Regions from separate parts of the Homo sapiens genome. Here region 2 is linked to region 1. The links are contacts of gene promoters, found by promoter capture Hi-C in human tissues and cell types (Jung and others, 2019). All regions are on one chromosome and are shown on one strand. The core of a region is centred on a gene start or on the middle of the fragment in contact, and the rest is flanking DNA. Distances in the headings are between cores, read along the strand shown.

Region 1 (4,386 bases), core at 1,181-3,680:
GAGAAGAATGCGAAGTGCAGGGCCTTGCACAGTTGGGCTCTGTGAGTCTTAGCAATGGCCATGACTGAGGCAGCGTGAGGGAGACTGGGAGAAAACCTCCTCAGTTTCCTTCTCCCAAATCTGTTGTCTTCCCCACTTTCTTTCCTGAAGCCAGGCGACAGGGGGGTGGTCCTGGCCCAGCCTCCTGGCTCCCTGGGGAAGGGCTGCCATTACTGGCAGTGTTAGATAATTTAGTAGAAAGTTGCCCTGCCCACCTCGCAGGCAAGGGACCGCCACCCAAATCCACCCAGACTGGGCCTCGTGTAGGTTTCCAGAAGCCACCCCTTTCTCATTGCCCTACTGCGCTCTGGCCAAGTCCCTGGGGCCCATTGCTGGACAGTGTGAGCGCAGAAAGAGCCAGCCCTACACAGTTTCCGATGTGTCTGATCTTGCCACCTACCGTGAACTGTTTTGTTATTACATCCATTTTCTAGATGAGGGACAGTAACAAGGGCTGAGTGGCCCTGAGCCCTTGGGCTCCACGCGCCCGCTGCCCAGGGCTGCCTCCGTTTGGGCTGGGACATGGGTCTGTGGGCTGGGAACAGGGCCTGCAGGCTGCCCCGCCGCTGGGAATCCGAGCGCTGGGTTTTCTCCTTCTGGGGTGGGGGCAGGGAGGAGACGGCTCAAGTGCAGGAATGAAGGTCCGCTTGCCTGGGGCTGTTTCTGCCCAAGTCCTCATCAGGAATCGTCAGGCCTGAGACAAACCCTCCCTCCTTCAGGAGTGCTCCGTTGGCCCCGGGGAAAGAGAGGTGATGGTCCGGGTTTCTGGGCCTTTGGGGTGCCACGGTGAGATTGGGACTAGAACCCCAGCCTCACTGGAGTGACCCCAGAAACCTTCCAGTCCAACCTCCTCACTTCAACTGAGGTTGGAACAACTGAGACCGGGTGGAAGTGACTTTTACACTCGCACAGTGCAACGGTAGCTACTCGGAATGAGAGACCTGTTCCGGCGCTCCTCCATTGCGCCCCTCGACTCGGCGGGACTTCTTCACCCAGGGCGCCACCGCTCCTCGGCACCGCAGGAAGGCGCAGGCCGGGCCCGGGGGAGTCGGGGAGAGCGGGGTAGGGCCCCGGAGGCTGGGGGAGGAGCCGGGGGAGGAGCGATGAGGCCGGGCCCTTTAAGAGGGCGGGCCGACTCCCCCCCACCCCCCACCCCGGGGCGGCGCAGGCGCAGGCGCAGGCGGGCTCGGGGCGCTCGGCAGGAGGGACGGCGGGCGGGCGCTCACCTGCGGGGGCCGGCGCGGGGCGGGCGCCCGGCGGGCCGACGTTGACGCCCGGAGGCGAGGGCGGGGAGGCGGGCGCGGGACTCGGGGGCGGCCCGGGGCGGGAGGGGAGGGCCGGGGCGGGCGGGCGGTGTGAGCGGGCGCCGAGGGCAGCACCATCTGGAGGGGTGGGAGCGCGCGGCCTCTGGGGGGCAAGCGAGTGCGCTGGGCCGAGCCGGTCGGGGGCCCCCGGCGGGTCGCGCAGGAGGAGCGCGGCGGGCTGAGCCCTGCGCTGCCGGAGCAGCAGCCGCAGCGCGTAGGGGTTCTCAGCTGGGGCCCGCAGCAGCTCCGCGGGCTGAAGCTCGGCGTGGAGGAGCGGGGCGGGGTGGGCCCGGCGGTGCAGGAGGAGGGCGGGGTGGGCCCGGGGCTGCAGGAGCGCGGCGGCCGCGGCCACGAGCCCAGCCGGGGGGTGGTGTGGGGGCCGCCGGACGGCGCGGGCTGGGGGCGCCCGCCGTGGTGGACGGGCTCGGCGGGCTGGCCTGTGGCGCAGGAGGAGGGGCTGGGGCCCCGCGGGCAGCACCAGGAGAAGGGCGGAGGCAGCCCCGCAGTGCAGGAGCGCGGCGAGGCCCGGGCCGGGGTGCAGGAGCGCGGGGAGGGGAGCCCGCGGAGGCTGCTGCAGCAGCCCGAACCGGCGTCCGAGTCCGGGGAAGGCCCCCGCGAGCGCAGGGAGGGGCCGGAAAGTTCCGGCGAACTGGGGGAGCGGCAGTGGGAGAGCGTCGGGCGGGAGGCGGTGGTCCTGGGAGCGGCCCCGGCGCCCCGAAGCCGCCCCGAGCTGGTGGGGAGGGCCCGGCCGGTGGGGCCCCGGGGGCCTGCGGGGGAGGGGCGCCTGGGGGTGCAAGAGGCGAATTGGCTGCCCGGGGTGCAGGAGGGACAGGTGGTGCGGGCTGTCCAGGAAACCTACCTGAACGGGAAGGAGCCCCAGGAGGGAGAGGGACCCGGCGAGGGGCTCAGGACCCGGAGGCGCCGGCGGAGGAGGAGGTGGTGACTGGCAGGCCCGGGCCCCACGGTACCTCCGGGGCTGAAGGGGACGCAGGATGTAGGGGCATGGGGAGTCGGGCGCAGAAGAGTGCGGGGAACCGCTGAGCTCTGGGAGCCACTGCCTGAGGGCAGGCCGCGGCCGGCGGGAACCTCTTCTGCCGTCTCAGCCTGGGCGTCGCTGAAGCTGTGTCTGCGGGGAGGCAGCGGAAGGCGGCAGGTAAGGAAGCCCAGTCCTGTTAGCTGGAGTTGGTGTGCTTGGAAGTGAGAGGCTGCAGGTCCCTGGCGAGAGCGTAGACTCCACACTGCCCTCGTTCTTTTGGCCTTTCATCCCTGGAGGGAGGAAGCAGTGCAGTTTTCAGCGGCAAGGCAGGACCTCTCCCCCGCCAGTACTGTGTATGGTAATTGGAGTGATAGGGCATCTTCTTAGAGTCTAGGCAGCAGGCGGGACGTCTGGGTGGCTGCCAGGTCTGTGCAGAGGGAAGAGAGGGGTAGCCCCAGGGAGGAGCTGCAGGACGGTCCCCCCTCCACCTGCCCCCCGATGGCAGTAGGGGTGCCTCCATGCTATATGCTCTGCATGGTGCAGTCAACACACAAGTCCTCAAAACACGTCCCACAGAAGGGAAGAGGGCAGCGTGGGATTAACAGAACCTTATCTTGTAACCCTGTTGGTCACGTGAGCTGAGATGAGTGTGACAGCTAGTGGCTTGGGTACGGCACGAGCCTGGCCCGCTTCTGCCACGCCGTCCTGTCACAGCTGATTTACCCTGAGGGCCCAGAGCCAAGGATGATTAGTGGGCGGAAGGAGGGAGAGCAACTGGTGAGCCCTCTCGTCTCTGGGTGGGACGACCCAGCGTTAGAGGGGCGGGAGAGGAGGGTGCACTTGCACCCCAGGGCTCTGGGCTGCCTCTGTGGCCCCACCCTGGGGAGGTTTGCAGATGGGCCGCTGTGGTATCATGGGCTCTGCACCTGTCAGGACAGGAGCTCCCAGCCCAGTCTAGAGGTAGGGCTTGTAGGGGCCAAGGGTGGGGGCTGTATTTGGCTTGTTGACTCCCTCGTGGCCTGAGTGCCAGACCTACTCATTCCGCCTCGTGCCCCCAGGGGGCTTGGCGGGCTGCTTGTGGGCCTTACTCTCCTAGAGCTGTTCGCCTCTTACCTGGCACTGTCAGGTGCTTGCTTCCCCTGCCCCTGGGTGGGGATGGGTGCAGGGTTGCTGCTTGCCCAGGGCCTTAGCTAGAGGACCCTCCTCTGCCCCAGCCCGAGGTGTGGCTGTGAGTCAGATGGACCCAGACCCCTGTCCCGAACCAGACTGGGTGCTCTCCTCTGGGGGCAGAGGGAGTGGTGCTGGAGGTAGCAGCTGCTGGAGGAGCCGGTTAGCCCGCTCCTCAGACAAACTCAAACCCGCCTGTCAGCTTCATCCCATGCCTGTCGCGCTGCCACCCAAACACTCATGCACCGGAAGTTCAGCTGCTGTGCCCACGGTGCCTGACGCTTCTGGAATGGCCAGAGTGGCTCTCACTGTCTGGCTTCAGTGGAGAGAACGGTCTGTTTTAAACACATACACACAATCTTCACCTACTTATTTCAGGTCGGCGTTTTTGAACTTGTGGTAGATGAATGGGAGAAAGGCCTTGGCATCACACAGATTGCTTTTGATCTGGTTATATCGCTTACAAGCTGTGTAACTTCCTTGGGCAACATAATGTCTTTAGGTTTCAGTTTCTTGGTGTCTGCGGTGGGCCAGGACTTCCCCTGCAGTGTCGTGAGTAAAGAAACCTCAGGCCCTTTGGAGCCTGGTGCCCACCTCCCCGGAGCCCCGGCAGATGTTAGGGAGGAAGGGTCAGACTGTTCCCTCTGGCCCCTGAGCCCGGGATTAGCCCCCACCTTGTGCTTCGTCTAGAAGATGCAGTGTTTCTTTTTGTTTGTTTTAAATAACAGTTTTATTGAGATATAATGACATATGGTAAACTGAGCATATTTAAAACACACAATTTAATAAGTTGTGGCCTGTGTATATACCCGTGAAACCACCCCCACCTTCAAGATAGTGAACATCCCCCTTATTCCCCTGTCCCCAGAAGTTTTCTTGTGGAACCCCTCCATCCCCCGC
Region 2 (4,386 bases), core at 627-3,126, 360 kb before region 1:
AGGAGAGAGAAAGAGAAGAGCTGTAGCCCTTTGGGAAGCCCAGACCTAGGAGCTCCTTGAGCCAGGGCTGTGACACCCTCTTTGGAGCTCTGTGGTTCCTGGCCTCTCCAAGCTTCTGGGCAGCACCATGTTCCCCAGTGCCTGCAGTGGAAGCTGCTTGTAGTACGCCTGGTTCAGCTGCAGCCTCTCAGGGAGCTGGCGCCTCGAGCTGCTCACCCCCTGGCAGCTGGCGTGCCTGGCTGTGCGCAGTGGCCGGACCCTGTGCTGGCTCGCCTGTGCACCTCTTGCCGCTCCGTGCCTGGCTTGTCCTTGGCATGCATGGAATCTGTGCTGGTAACACAAGCTGAGCATAGCCTACCAGGCTGAGTGGACGGAACGAGCCCGGCGGGCCTGAGCAAAACTCAGGCAAAGGTGCCACTGGCCACAGAGGTTTCTGGCTAGCGAAGTGACACCCCAAGTATTCTGTGACTTAAACATGAAATACAGAATATTCAGAACTTTGCTGTAATAGCTAGTTGCTAGAAACTCTCTGCTAAATGAGACAATAATAAATAAGTTCCTTTGGGGGAAGGAGAATCCCTGAGGGGGTTTTAATAGCTGGAAACTGTGAACAAGCTTGAGGTGTTAAGACCCTGAAAGAGGAAAGGGAAATGAGTACTGAGAAAAGAAGGGGAAGGGCCAGGTGCAGTGGTTCACACCTGTAATTCCAGCACTTTGGGAGGTCGAGGTGGGTGGATCACCTGAGGTCAGGAGTTCAAGACCAGCCTGGCCAACATGACAAAACCCTGTCTCTACTAAAAATACAAAAATTGGCTAGGCGCCATGGCTCACGCCTGTAATTTCAGCACTTTTGGAGGACGAGGCAGGTGGATCACGAGGTCAGGTGTTCGAGACCAGCCTGGCCAACATAGGGAAACCCTGTCTCTACTAAAAATACAAAAAATTAGCCAGGCGTGGTGGTGGGTGCCTGTAATCCCACCTACTCAGGAGGCTGAGGCAGGAGAATCGCTTGAACCTGGGAGGCGGAGGTTGTAGTGAGCCGAGATGGTGCCACTGCACTCTAGCCAGGGTGACGGAGTGAGACTCTTTCTCAAAAAAAAAAAAAAGGAAAGAAGGAGAAGGACATTTAAAAAATACATTATGCTGGTCCTAGCTATTCTGGAGGCTCAGATGGGAGGATTGCTTAAGCTCAGGAGTTTGAGGCTACAGTGTGCTATGATTATGGCTGTGAGAGCCGAGATCGTGCCACTGCACTCTAGCCAGGGTGACAGAGTGAGACTCTTTCTCAAAAAAAAAAAAAAGGAAAGAAGGAGAAGGACATTTAAAAAATACATTATGCTGGTCCTAGCTATTCTGGAGGCTCAGATGGGAGGATTGCTTAAGCTCAGGAGTTTGAGGCTACAGTGTGCTATGATTATGGCTGTGAGAGCCGAGATCGTGCCACTGCACTCTAGCCAGGGTGACAGAGTGAGACTCTTTCTCAAAAAAAAAAAAAAGGAAAGAAGGAGAAGGACATTTAAAAAATACATTATGCTGGTCCTAGCTATTCTGGAGGCTCAGATGGGAGGATTGCTTAAGCTCAGGAGTTTGAGGCTACAGTGTGCTATGATTATGGCTGTGAGAGCCGAGATCGTGCCACTGCACTCTAGCCAGGGTGACACAGTGAGACTCTTTCTCAAAAAAAAAAAAAGGAAAGAAGGAGAAGGACATTTAAAAAATACATTATGCTGGTCCTAGCTATTCTGGAGGCTCAGATGGGAGGATTGCTTAAGCTCAGGAGTTTGAGGCTACAGTGTGCTATGATTATGGCTGTGAGTAGCCACTGCGCTCCAGCCTGGACAACCTAGCAAGACCCCTAAAAAAATAAAAACAATAAAAAAGTAAATAAAAACCATTATGCTACTCCACAATTTTCATGCAAGTAACTCTGGTGAAGTGGTCACTGAAATCTATAGAACTTTTAGAGTTAAGAAATTCACTCAGTGATGTGGTTCATGCCTGTCATCCCAAGTCTTTGGGAGTTTGAGTTGGGAGGATCACTTGAGGCCAGGAATTCAAGACCAGCCTGGGCAACATAGCGAGGCCTGTCTCTTAAAAAAAAAAATAACTAGGTGTGGTGGCATGTGCCTGTAGTCCCAACTACTTGGGAGGCTGGGGCAAGAGGATCGCTTGAGCTAACGAGGTTGAAGCTGCAGTGAGGCAAGATCATACCACTGCACCCCAGCCTGGGCAACAGAGTGAGACCCCGTCTTAAAAAAAATTAGAGTTAAGAAATCCGTGTTTTGTTAATCCAGGACTTGGTGAGAGCCATCCGTTTACAAAAGGCTCTTTTCTCTACCTGCACCAGTCATACCTTCACATTGCCTTATACCTGTCATATCGATGATGCGGAGGATAGTGGGAGAGTCTGTGTAACTATCTTTCTCAGCCAAATTATTCCAATCTTTTGCATGCAATCAGGATTTAAAATGAGCAGTTAGTATGTAGGCTGCACTGTGAGGGGGAATGACTTCCGACTTCAGGCAATTCACTGTGGCCATTGTTGCACAGAGAGGCGTTTCAGTATTTCTACTAGAGCCTGTGTTTTGTGAAGCTTCGCTGGTTTTGCCAGATGCCATTGGCTCATCTTGGTGAAGTGCAGCTGTAGAATTGGTATTTTGCTGAGTGTATCCACGTCAACGTCTCTGAAATACTGGTGACAAACTTTTTCCCACCCCAATGAGAAAATTTTTGTTTTCACTTTCTATGACCAGTTAAAAGAAGATGGATGCACAGTGTTCAGCCAAGGTCAATGCAAGGAAGAGGAGAAAAGAGGCGCCCGGACCCAACGGGGCAACAGAAGAAGATGGGGTTCCTTCCAAAGTGCAGCGCTGTGCAGTGGTAAGTGGAGATTAACCTGGCAGGGGGAGGGTAGAAACCGATATGACATTGATGATATCAGTGTTACATGTCTTCTGAAATAATGAAAAGAAGGAATAGTAAGTGTATTTTCACAGTCACTGGAAATCTGCTGCCTTTTTACTGGATTATGACTCACAGCTCAGTTGTAGAAGCTTTACATTGGGTTTAGAAAAAGAAGTGTTAGGAAAATATGGAAGTTGCATGTGTATTAGGCTGAAACTATTGAAATATGGCCAGGTGCGGTGACTCATACCTGTAATCCCACACTTTGGGAGGCTGAGGTGGGAGGATCACCTGAGGTCAGGAGTTTGAGACCAGCCTGGTGAAACCCTGTCTTTACTAAAAATACAAAATTAGCCGGGCGTGGTGGCGCATGCCTGTAATCTCAGCTGCTTGGGAGGCTGAGGCATGAGAATTGCTTGAACTCGGGAGGCGGAGGATGCGGTGAGCCGAGATTGCACCATTGCATTCCAGCCTGGGCAACAGAGACAGACCCTATCTCAAAAATAAAAATAAAAAGTAAATAAACAAATAAATAAAACTAATGAAATAGAAAAATTGGGGCTCTAGGCAGTGATTTGATCTTCGTATCATCTCATGGTGTCTAGTGCGTCTTTTCTGCTGTTTTTTCTCCCTCTATCATTCCTCCATCCTGTTACTAGTTGTATCTTAGATGAGAACCTTTTTCCGTTTATGCCTACCTTATGCTCCTTTATCTCTGGAAAATTATCTTTGTATTTCCTAATTATTGCCAAACCTTAGATGAAAGACCCCATTCCACACTGCCTATCCCATCTCAGCTTGCTACCCTTCCTAAAGCTTTCCTCCACACTGCCTATCCTGTCTCAGCTTGCTACCCTTCCTAAAACTTTCCATAATAAAAACATGTCAGAGAACACTTACACACAATTGAAGCTACTGTTGTTAATATTATTATGAAATCTGTGTTTCAAAATCCCAGTGACAGAATTGTATGTTTCTTTACCTATATTGACTATTAGCCATTGATCAAACTCAGTTTCCACTGCTTAGTTCTAGAGCTTCCCAGCCCAAAGGGAAAAATCTATTCTGAAACAGTTAATACTTATTCCAAATGAATGCTCTGTCTTGAGCAATAAAAGCAAATAATACCCTACAAATAGACAAGTGCCTGCAGGGCTGATATTGATCATAAGGGCAAGTATATATATTTGTTTCCTGTTGCATTTGTAACAAATTACCATAATACAAATATACAAATGAATTATCTTACAGTTCTGGATATCAGAAATCTGAAATGGGTCTCAGAGGGCTAAAATCAGGGTGTTGGCAGAGCTGGAGGGTCCAGGGGAAAGTCCATCTTCTTGCCTTTTCCAGCTTCTAGAGGGTTCCCACATTGCTTAGTGCTTGGCACCAGCCAGTGCTCACATCACTCTGACGATTGCTTCTGCCATGTCTCCTGCTCTGATTCTGAACCTCCTACTTCCCCTTTTCACTTACAAGGAC

Evidence for each region. Contacts are between HindIII fragments. The study calls those that stand out against the background at their distance.
Region 2: a fragment that was not itself captured here is called in contact with the fragment with the promoter of TNK2 in region 1 in 1 of the 25 tissues and cell types used here (spleen).

Annotation. Positions count from the first base shown.
Region 1 is chr3:195,906,595-195,910,980 of GRCh38, reverse strand. It overlaps TNK2 (tyrosine kinase non receptor 2), which reads left to right and starts at 2,430. Exons shown (of 16, transcript NM_001382273.1): 1 at 2,430-2,496. It overlaps TNK2-AS1 (TNK2 antisense RNA 1), which reads right to left and starts at 2,905. Exons shown (of 2, transcript NR_145450.1): 1 at 2,203-2,905; 2 at 1-1,116. RefSeq lists enhancers at 847-896, 3,887-4,116, 4,167-4,216 and silencers at 1,027-1,676, 1,727-1,916, 1,967-2,216. The HindIII fragment of the contact is 14,484 bases long and covers 1-4,386 here.
Region 2 is chr3:196,268,909-196,273,294 of GRCh38, reverse strand. It overlaps PCYT1A (phosphate cytidylyltransferase 1A, choline), which reads left to right. Exons shown (of 9, transcript NM_001312673.2): 2 at 2,754-2,880. The coding sequence starts at 2,764. Among named protein-coding and RNA genes, the nearest start is that of PCYT1A, 17 kb to the left of the region's middle. RefSeq lists an enhancer at 1-211. The HindIII fragment of the contact is 3,023 bases long and covers 365-3,387 here.